Regions from separate parts of the Homo sapiens genome. Here region 2 is linked to region 1. Evidence: promoter capture Hi-C in 16 types of primary human blood cells and fetal thymus (Javierre and others, 2016). All regions are on one chromosome and are shown on one strand. The core of a region is centred on a gene start or on the middle of the fragment in contact, and the rest is flanking DNA. Distances in the headings are between cores, read along the strand shown. Region 1 holds the start of TRIM23 (tripartite motif containing 23). Region 2 has its middle 2.6 kb from the start of KGD4.

Region 1 (4,701 bases), core at 1,592-4,091:
AGGCTGCTTATTGTTCTTTTTTTTTTTTTTTTTTTTTTTTTTGAGACAGGGTCTCACTCTGTCACCCAGGCTGGAGTGCAGTGGCGCAATCTCAGCTCACTGCAGCCTCTGCCTCCCAGGTTCAAGCGGTTCTCCTGCCTCAGTCTCCCGAGTAGCTGGGATTACACCACCACACCTGGCTAATTTTTGTATTTTTGGTATAGACGGGTTTTCGCCATGTTGGCCAGGCTGGTGTCAACTCCTGATCTCAAGTGATCTGCCAGCCTCGGCCTCCCAAAGTGCTATTACAGGCGTGAGCCACCACGCCTGGCTTAGGCTGCTTAAATATTCTTTCTTAGGTATCCTTGGTTTTGGAAAAAAAAGAATAACAGAAAACTAAAAATTCCCAGTGGCAGTCTCTGTATCACTGGAATTTAACTTTTTGTTTGTTTGTTTTTTGAGATGGAGTCTCGCTCTGTTGCCTAGGATGGCGTGCAGTGGCGTGATCTCGGATCACTGCAAGCTCCGCCTCCCGGGTTCACGCCATTCTCCTGCCTCAGCCTCCTGAGTAACTGGGACTACAGGCGCCCGCCACCACGCCTGGCTAACTTTTTGTATTTTTATAGAGACGGGGTTTCACTATGTTAGCCAGGATGGTCTTGATCTCTTGACCTTGTGATCACCCGCCTTGGCCTCCCAAACTGCTGGGATTACAGGGGTGAGCCACCACGCGCGGCTGCAATTTAACTGTTTTTAATAGCTTCTAATTTGTATAAATCACACGTAGCAGTTAATAGAACTGTTCCAAATTCCCATCGGAGTAGCTGGTAGAGGAATTATCTCTGAGAATGCTGCTTCATTCTTTAGGAGGCAACACGGACTCTTGGAAAGAGAGGCAGGCCTTGCGTTGAAACACTGCCTCAATCACTAGCTATGTGATCTTGGAAAAGTTACTTAAACTCTGAGAATTAATATTTACTCCACATACTTGAAGTGAGATTGTGAGATAAAGAACACGACAATTAGTTGCTTTTCTTCTTTTCCCTCTTCTCCACGAGTAACAATCCATTTTAATCTCCATTTTAGTCTAGATCATTTGCTCAGGTTAAGCTTACAGGTCCCATCACTGTATCACTAAACATTACAAAGTTCCACAGTAAGAGACAATCTCGCTAACACAGGCATCATTATATGAGACTGATGAGCTTCTAGAAAGTCTGATGACTACATCATAATGGGAAGGATAAGGCGTTCCTCAAAATGGATGCCATAAGTAAAGTAAGCGCAATTCAATTGAACCCGAATGTTTATTGAGCATTTCCTCAGCTCATTCAAGAAGTCATTGTTAACCATATATTAAGGCATCCAAGAAACAAAAAGCGCATTTGTTGTAGTAAAAAACAAATAAAATAAAGCTGAAAAGATTTCAAATAAAAGGTTTCCAGAAAATAGGCATTAAAAAAATTGTCCTAAAAAAAAAAGTGCTGCTGTTTTTTCCTAAATAATGATCTAATTAAATCACCAAACTTACTCAAAATGGCTGTGTACAAAAAATGAGAGTTGACATTAGATCTCGGACATATTTCCCACATACACAGTGATTTGAAGTAAACTGCAGTTTGTTTTGAATAAATCTAAGTTATATGTTGTATTACTATGTATTGCTAAATTCTCTGCACTACTGTCATGCAATACTAATTTTACAGGGGAAGCTGAAGCCTGATTAACTTCGTCAGTGCCACAGGAAGAAACAAGAGACAGAAGGAAAAAGCACTTTGGATGCCCGCTGTAATTCACAGAGATCTCCACGGTAGGAGCGGGACGTCAGCTTCTGCGGCTAAAATCTCGTGACTGAAGCAGCACAGATCAGAAAGAACGATTTACCAGGTATCTATTTCGTTCTAGAAAGGGGCCCATAAACCTAAAAAGCATCCAGGAGAAATCGCTTCCTCCCGCTTGGCGGCAAAGGACAGAGCAGGAGGGCGAGCACTGAGTGTTTAAGAAGGATGAGGCCTACATGGCAAAGGCTTCGATAAGTAGGGAATGCAAGGAAACAGAAAAGGGGGAATCAGGTTCGCAAAAGTTTACCTTTTAGCGCCAGCAGGTGCTCCTGTTTAGGGGGATTCACTTCCATTTTGACCGGCACTTTTGACCCACAGCCTACGGGGGCTGGACAGGTTCAACTTGCCCCGGAAGGAAACGGAAAACCTCGCGTTTGGCAAAACCAAAAGTCAAACGCACTCTCAACCTCTCTCTGGTGGTGGTACCTTAAATTCTCCTACTGTGTCCTTTACAAACTGGCTTCTTTTCAACAAGTCCATTTCTTCTATCTTAGAAACGTAGGCATAAAATACTTTGTTTTCCATCTGCAATCACACATCGCGACTGCAGGAAAAGAAACCACCCCTAGGTAACAATACGCGGCCTCCCAAAGGCCAACGTTGCCGGAGTTTTTTTTTTAAAAAAAAAAAAAAAAAAAAAAAAGAGAGAGAGAGAGAGTGGCATGCTGGGATTTGTAGTTTATACAAAAACCGCGTTGCATGCAGGGAGATGCCCGTACCCCCTCACCGCCCTCAGTTCACGCCCTGGCTGGTTTGGATTCGAGAGGAAAAATCATTAAAGGATCTGGAGTTTTCACCCCAAAACTTTAATCGTTTTGTCCCTTCTTTTTTTTTCTTGTCTTTCCTCCAGCAGCTGCAGACTACATAATGAAAAATAACAAAAGTGCCCATGCGCGAGGCTGTGCAACTAACCACCCGACGATTGCGGGGAGGAGGAGTAAGAGTCGGCTAAGCGGCGCCCAGTGTCCTACTGCGCCTGTGCGCCGGTGGCGTGCGCAGAGGCCTCTGGGTAGGTGGCTCAACCCCGCCTCTCAGTTGAGGACTCTGAAGGCTGTTTCTGTGGCGCTTCCCCTGCGAGGATGGCTACCCTGGTTGTAAACAAGCTCGGAGCGGGAGTAGACAGTGGCCGGCAGGGCAGCCGGGGGACAGCTGTAGTGAAGGTGAGGGACCTTGCGTGCTCTATTCTCCACCATCGGCCTCCCTTCGGTTCATCCTGGAGACCTGGCGGCATCGCCGCGGCCCAGGCTTCGATAGGTGGGATGCGCGGCCTCTGGGCCCCTTTTGGCATTACAAGTCTCGTCCTGTCCTCTGCATCCTTTCTCTCCTATGGCCTGAAATTGCCTGGTCTTCTGCTCATGACATGTCATCATCGGGACATTTGTGAAAAGGAGCTTGCGGGCCAGTGGCAGTGACCTAGACCGGTCTTTTCTCCAGGTCCTCTGCTTTTAGTTAAACTCAACAGACATTAATTAGCTTAGTATTATAAATTGAGTCATCATCATCGTAACTACGTACTAAGTTAGGTGTTTTAGCTCGTTAATATCTACTTATGAAGTAGATGTGAATTCCCATTTTACAGGGAGGAAACCCAGGTTTAGGTAAACAGTGTGTGGCAGAGCCCCGGGTTGACCGGCTTTAAAGTCTGTACTTTTCGCTCTTGTACTGCGTCTGTAATCAGACATCTGTTATTGGGTGAGCTGCCCCCTCCCCTGTTAGTAGTACAGTCTATTAACTCTTTGCACAAGTCTGCAGCATCGTCATAGCTGGGCATTAACGATAGAGTTTATGAATTTTCTTATGCTTGAAGTTTGAGATTCTACCATGTATACATGCTCCAGAATCAATTTGCTAAAAAATCATTTGAAATATGTGGCACTCATTTTTCCCTTCCACTGTTGTGCACGGAAAGATATGGAGGGGAGAACTGATCCCATTGGTTTATAGAGTAACCTTCAGGAGCATCTCTAATCTAAGAGATTGATAATTCTCATTCCTGGCTACATATTAGGATCACTGAGGAGTTTTAGTACACTACTGATGCACTCCTCCTCCAGTTCTGATGAGGTTGACATCAGTATATTTTAGGAATTACCAGAAGTTATTTTAATGTGCAACCAGGGTTATGAATTACTGATCAAGGTAATATATGAAGTTTTTTTCACATCTTGAAAAGTAGACACCTATGATTATTCAGGTAATGTTGGTTTTATATGACAGCAAATGAGACATTTCTTCCCACAATTTAGTATCAGTGAATATTGGTGGTTGTTGATTCAGATGACCTTTAGGTACTAATGAAGTTATTCTACAGGTACACGGCATATCTGATATGCAAAGGAGCCCTCATTATTAGGCATGTTGTGTGACTGAGATTTTATTTATTGAATTGTGCTTTTGCTAAGTAGAGAATACTTGAAGAGCAGTTTGTGAATTAACTTGAAGTTTAAGTTTTATTTCATAATTGGAATGGGTATCATTGCAGTATCTATTTTTTTGTTACCCTGTTTGCCTTACAGTCTCAAAAGTGTACCAAAGCCTGATGTAACTCCAGTTTCTTACAGCACAGAATTTGATACATTGGAGGCTCACCTTGTTCATTTTCATCTTAACATGTAAAATATTCCTGAACTGTGCAATGAAATAGTCCTTTCTGACAAAATCTTCATGCCATAATTTGTAGTAGGTATAGTAGCATAAACTAAAAAAATCTCACTGTCATTTCTATAGATGAAAGCAAGAAGTATTTATTGGAAGGTAAAAGTTGAAGTATATAATGCTAATACTGTGTAAAATGGCCTTTTGCTTGTGAACAAGTTGATAATGACATGGCTTTTATCATTAGAGAAAACAGTAACATAAAAATCTGATATTGTGGCTAGGC
Region 2 (4,701 bases), core at 944-3,443, 3.6 Mb before region 1:
ACAACCTTCTTATCTGACAGCTCTTGCAAAGATTAAAAAAATTAAAGAAAAACAAAAAAAAAACCTTGCGGTTTCCTAAAATGAATAATTTCGTTAAAATGGGAGTTAGTGGCAAGCTCACAAGAGTTTACTCTGGCTTAAAAAGGGCCATGTCACACTCTCTTGCTGATTGGCATTGCTTGATTGTAATTTGTTTCTGTTTTCTTTACCGTTTATTACTCCTGATATCGAACTGCTGGGCCTTTGCTTCAAGTTGAGATAACTCAAAAATTCAGAAATATTTGAAATGTAAGCCACTCATATCTTTCCCCCAAAATTACATTACGGGCGGGGCGCTATGGCTCACGCCTGTAATGCCAGCACTTTGGGAGGCTGAGGCGGGCGGATCACTTGAGGTCAGGAGTTCGACACCAGACTGGCCAACATTGTAAAACCCTGTCTCTACTAAAAATACAAAAATTAGCCGGGCGTGGTGGCGGGCGCCTGTAGTCCCAGCTACTCAGGAGGTGAGGCAGGAGAATTGCTTGAACCCAGAAGGCAGAGGTTGCAGTAAGCCGAGAGTGTGCCACTGCACTCCGGCCTGAGCGACAGAGGGAGACTCCGTCTCAAAAAAAAAAAAAGTTACATTACGTTCTGTGATAATGCTTAGGTTATATATAGTATTGTAAGCTTGACCAATGTGTTTGATGATATACATCAGTGATTTCTAAGTCTTGGGATCTTTTTAGAAATATAAATTACTGAACCCAGGTATGGTCTATTGGGATTCAGTGACTACAGAGAGGCCATTAACCCGTTTTGTTTTGTTTTGTTTTTGTGGTTTTTTTTTTTTTTTTTGAGACGGAGTCTCGCTCTGTTGCCCAGCCTGGAGTGCTGTGGCGTGATCTCAGGTCACTGCAACCTTTGCCTCCTGGATTCAAGCAATTCTCCAGCCTCAGCCTCCCCAGTAGCTGGGATTACAGACGCCCGCCACCACGCCTGGCTAATTTTTGTATTTTTGGTAGAGACAGAGTTTCACCATATTGGCCAGACTAATCTCCAACTCCTGGCCTCAAGTGATCCACCCACCTCAGCCTCCCTAAGTGCTGGTATTACAGGCGTGAGCCACTGCGCCTGGCCCCATTTTAATTATTTTCAAATGTGCAGTTCAGTCACATTAAGTACATTCACATTGTTGGGCAATTGTTACCATCTTCAGAAACTGTACCCATTAAACAAAAACTTATTCCTCCTTCCCTCAGCCTCTGACAACTATCATTTTACTTTCTGTCTATGAATTTGACTACTGTGGGTACTTAATGTACGTGGAGCCATAACAGTATTTGTCCTTTTGTAATTAGCTTGTTTCACTTAGCATGTCTTCAGAGTTCATTCATGTTGTAGAATGTGTCAGAATTTCTTTTTTAAGGCTGAAAAAATCCCATTATATGTGTATACCACATTTTGCTTATCCATTCATCTGTGGTAATTCTTTTTTTTTTTGAGACAGAGTCTTGCTCTGTCACCCAGGCTGGAGTGCAGTGGTGCCAACTCGGCTCACTGCAAGCTCCGCCTCCCTGGTTCACACCATTCTCCCACCTCAGCCTCCCAGGTAGCTGGGACTACAGGCACCCGCCACCACACCAGGCTAATTTTTTTTGTATTTTTAGTAGAGACAGGGTTTCACTGTGTTAGCCAGGATAGTCTCCATCTCCTGACCTCGTGATCTGCCCGCCTCAGCCTCCCAAAGTGCTGGGATTACAGGTGTGAGCCACCGTGCCCAGCCGATAATTTTTTTTTTTTTTTGAGACAGAGTCTCGCTGTGACACCCAGGCTGGATGCAGTGGCATGATCTCAGCTCAATGCAACCTCTGCCTCCTGGGTTCAACTGATTCTCCTGCCTCATCCTCCTGAGTGGCTGGGATTACAGGTGCCCACCACCACGCCCAGCTAATTTTTGTATTTTTAGTAGAGACAGGGTTTCTCCGTGTTGGCCAGAATGATCTCAAACTCCTGACCTCAGGTGATCCGCCCACCTTGGCCTCCCAAAGTGCTGGGATTACAGGTGTGAGCCACCGCACCTGGCCCAGTTCAATGCTTTTTAGAAAATTTTCATTTGAGACTCCTTTGACCTATGCCTCATTTAAAAGTGTGTTCAGTTTCCAAGTATTTGGAAATTTTCCTGTTATCTGACTGTTACTGATTCCTCATTTGATTCCCTTGTAGTCAGAACACAGTCTGTATAATTTCAATTCTTTTATATTTGTTGATATTTTGTCATCCAGGATATGGTCTATGTTGTTTATGTTCTGTAAGCACTTGAAAAGAGTGTTCTGCTGTTGTTTGGTGGAGTATTCTATAAATGTTGATTAGCTCCTCTGTTAGTCCATGTGTGCTACTGTAACAAAATACCTTAGTATGGGTAATTTATAACCACAGAAATTTATTTCTCATGTTCAGGAGGCTCAAAAGTCTAAGATCAAAGTACCAGCAGTTTCGGTGTTTTGTGAGGGCTCAGTCTTTTCTTCCAAGATGGTGCTTTGAACACTGCTTCATCCGAGGGGTTTAACACTGTGTGCTCACATGGCAGAAGGGCAGAAGAGAAGGAACCCATTCCCTCAAACTTTTTTTTTTTTTTTTTTTGAGACAGTCTTGTTCTGTCACCCAGGCTGGAGTGCAGTGGCACAATCTCGGCTCACTGCAACCTCCATCTCCTGGGTTCAAGCGATTCTCCTGTTGCAGCCTCCCAAGTAGCTGGGATTACAGGCGCCCTCTACCACACCCAGCTAATTTTTGTATTTTTAGTAGAGATGGGGTTTTGCCATGTTGGACAGGCTGGCTTTGAACTCCTGACCTCAGGTGATCGGCCCACTTTGGCCGCCCAAAATGCTGGGATTACAGGTGTGAGCCATTGTGCCTGGCCCTCAAACCTTTTTTTAAGGGCCTTAATCTCATCCATGATGGTTCTGTACTCATGATTTAATCATTTCCAATACCTTTTCGTATTGTCACATTAGCAATTTTCAATAGATGAATTTTGAAGGACACAGTCAGACCATAGCTTACCGCCTTTGGCCCCCCAAATTTATGTCCTACTCACATGCAAAATACATTTATCGGACGCTTGTTGCTCACACCTGTAATCCCAGCACTTTGGGAGGCTGAGGCAGACGGATCACTTGAGGTCACGAATTCCAGGCCAGCCTGGCCAACACGGTGAAACCCTGTCTCTACTAAAAATAAAAAAAATTAGCTGAGCGTGGTGGTGTATGCCTATAATCCCAGCTACTTGGAAGCCGAGGCATGAGAATTGCTTGAACCTGGGAGGCGGAAGTTGTTCACAGTGAGCCAAGATCGTACCACTGCACTTCAGCCTGGGGGACAAAGGGAAACACTGTCTCAAAAGACAAACAAAAAAAACCCAAAAATACATTTATCCATCCCAGTAGCCCCAAAAGTCTCAACTCATTCCAGCACCAACTCAAAACTATAAAGTCCAGAGTCTCACCTAAATCAGATATGGATGAGACTCAAGGCCATGACTCATCCTGAGGCAACTTCTCCTGCAGCTGTGAGCCTGTGAAATCAAATACATGTGCTTCCAAAACACAATGATGGGTCAGGAACAGGACTGACATTCCCATTCCAAGAGGGAGAAATAGGCAAGAAGAAAGGAGTAATAGGTCCCAAGTAAGTTAAAAACCCAAAAGGCCAACAACATTAACTCTTGAAGCTTGAGAATAATTCTTGACTCAGTATCTTGCCTTCAGGATGCATTGGGCTGGGGGTTGGACCCCCAAAGCCCCGGGGCAGCCCTACCCCATGGTTTTGATGGGCACAGTTCCAACCCAGCAGCTCTCAGCAGTTGAAGAGAGGTACCTGGGCTCTCTCAGGCAAGTATTGCATGCTGATGGCTCTACAGGTCTGGAGTCTGCCCTCCATACAGGGGTGGCCCTGCCATACAGCTCTGTAACAGCCTTTTATTGTTAGCCTTAGATAGCAGACAACTACCACTGAGGTTTTTTGAGATGGAGTCTCGCTGTCACCCAGGCTGGAGTGCAGTGGCACGATCTCGGCTCACTGCAAGCTCCGCCTCCCGGATTCACGCCATTCTCCTGCCTCAGCCTCTGGAGTAGCTGGTACTACAGGCGCCCGCCACCACACCCAGCTAATTTTTTGTATTTTTAGTACAGACAAGGTTTCACCGTATTAGCCAGGATGGTCTCAATCTCCAGACCTCATGATCTGCCTGCCTCAGCCTCCCAAAAGTGCTGGGATTATAGGCGTGAGCCACCGCACCCAGTTTTTGTTTTTGTTTTGAGACAGGGTCTCTGTCACCCAGGCTGGAGCACACTGGCACCATTATAGCTCATTGCAGCCTCAAACTCCCCAGTTCAAGCAGTTCTTCTGCCCCAGCCTCCTGAGCAGCTGGGACTACAGGCACATACCACCATGCCCAGATCACTGAGTTTGTTAGTGATACGATGTCATCTTAGCAGGTTAGTTCTTCTGTCCTTTTTGTAGAATATAATCCATGGGTAGGTTTTCTGGCCTTAGAAAATGTATCTACTCCATATAAAGAAAAAAAAACACATAGATAATATATCTACTGCAAGCCTGGGGACAGTGGCTCATCCCTGTAATCTCAGCACGTTGGGAGGCTGAGGCAGGCAGATCTCTTGAGATCAGGAGTTTGAGACCAGCCTGGCCAACATGGTAAAA

The links. Contacts are between HindIII fragments. The CHiCAGO score rates a contact against its expected background, and 5 or more counts as called.
Region 2: a fragment that was not itself captured here is called in contact with the fragment with the promoter of TRIM23 in region 1 in 1 of 17 cell types (non-activated CD4 T cells); the score reaches 9.8 in non-activated CD4 T cells.

The regions. Positions count from the first base shown.
Region 1 is chr5:65,622,473-65,627,173 of GRCh38, reverse strand. TRIM23 (tripartite motif containing 23) reads left to right here and starts at 2,841. Exons shown (of 11, transcript NM_001656.4): 1 at 2,841-2,980. The coding sequence starts at 2,900. TRAPPC13 (trafficking protein particle complex subunit 13) reads right to left here and starts at 2,147. Exons shown (of 13, transcript NM_024941.4): 1 at 2,068-2,147. The coding sequence starts at 2,113. SHLD3 (shieldin complex subunit 3) reads right to left here and starts at 2,147. Exons shown (of 2, transcript NM_001365341.2): 1 at 2,068-2,147. RefSeq lists enhancers at 2,632-2,711, 2,842-3,171. The HindIII fragment of the contact is 4,327 bases long and covers 1,092-4,701 here.
Region 2 is chr5:69,212,784-69,217,484 of GRCh38, reverse strand. No RefSeq gene overlaps it. Among named protein-coding and RNA genes, the nearest start is that of KGD4, 2.6 kb to the left of the region's middle. The HindIII fragment of the contact is 3,043 bases long and covers 672-3,714 here.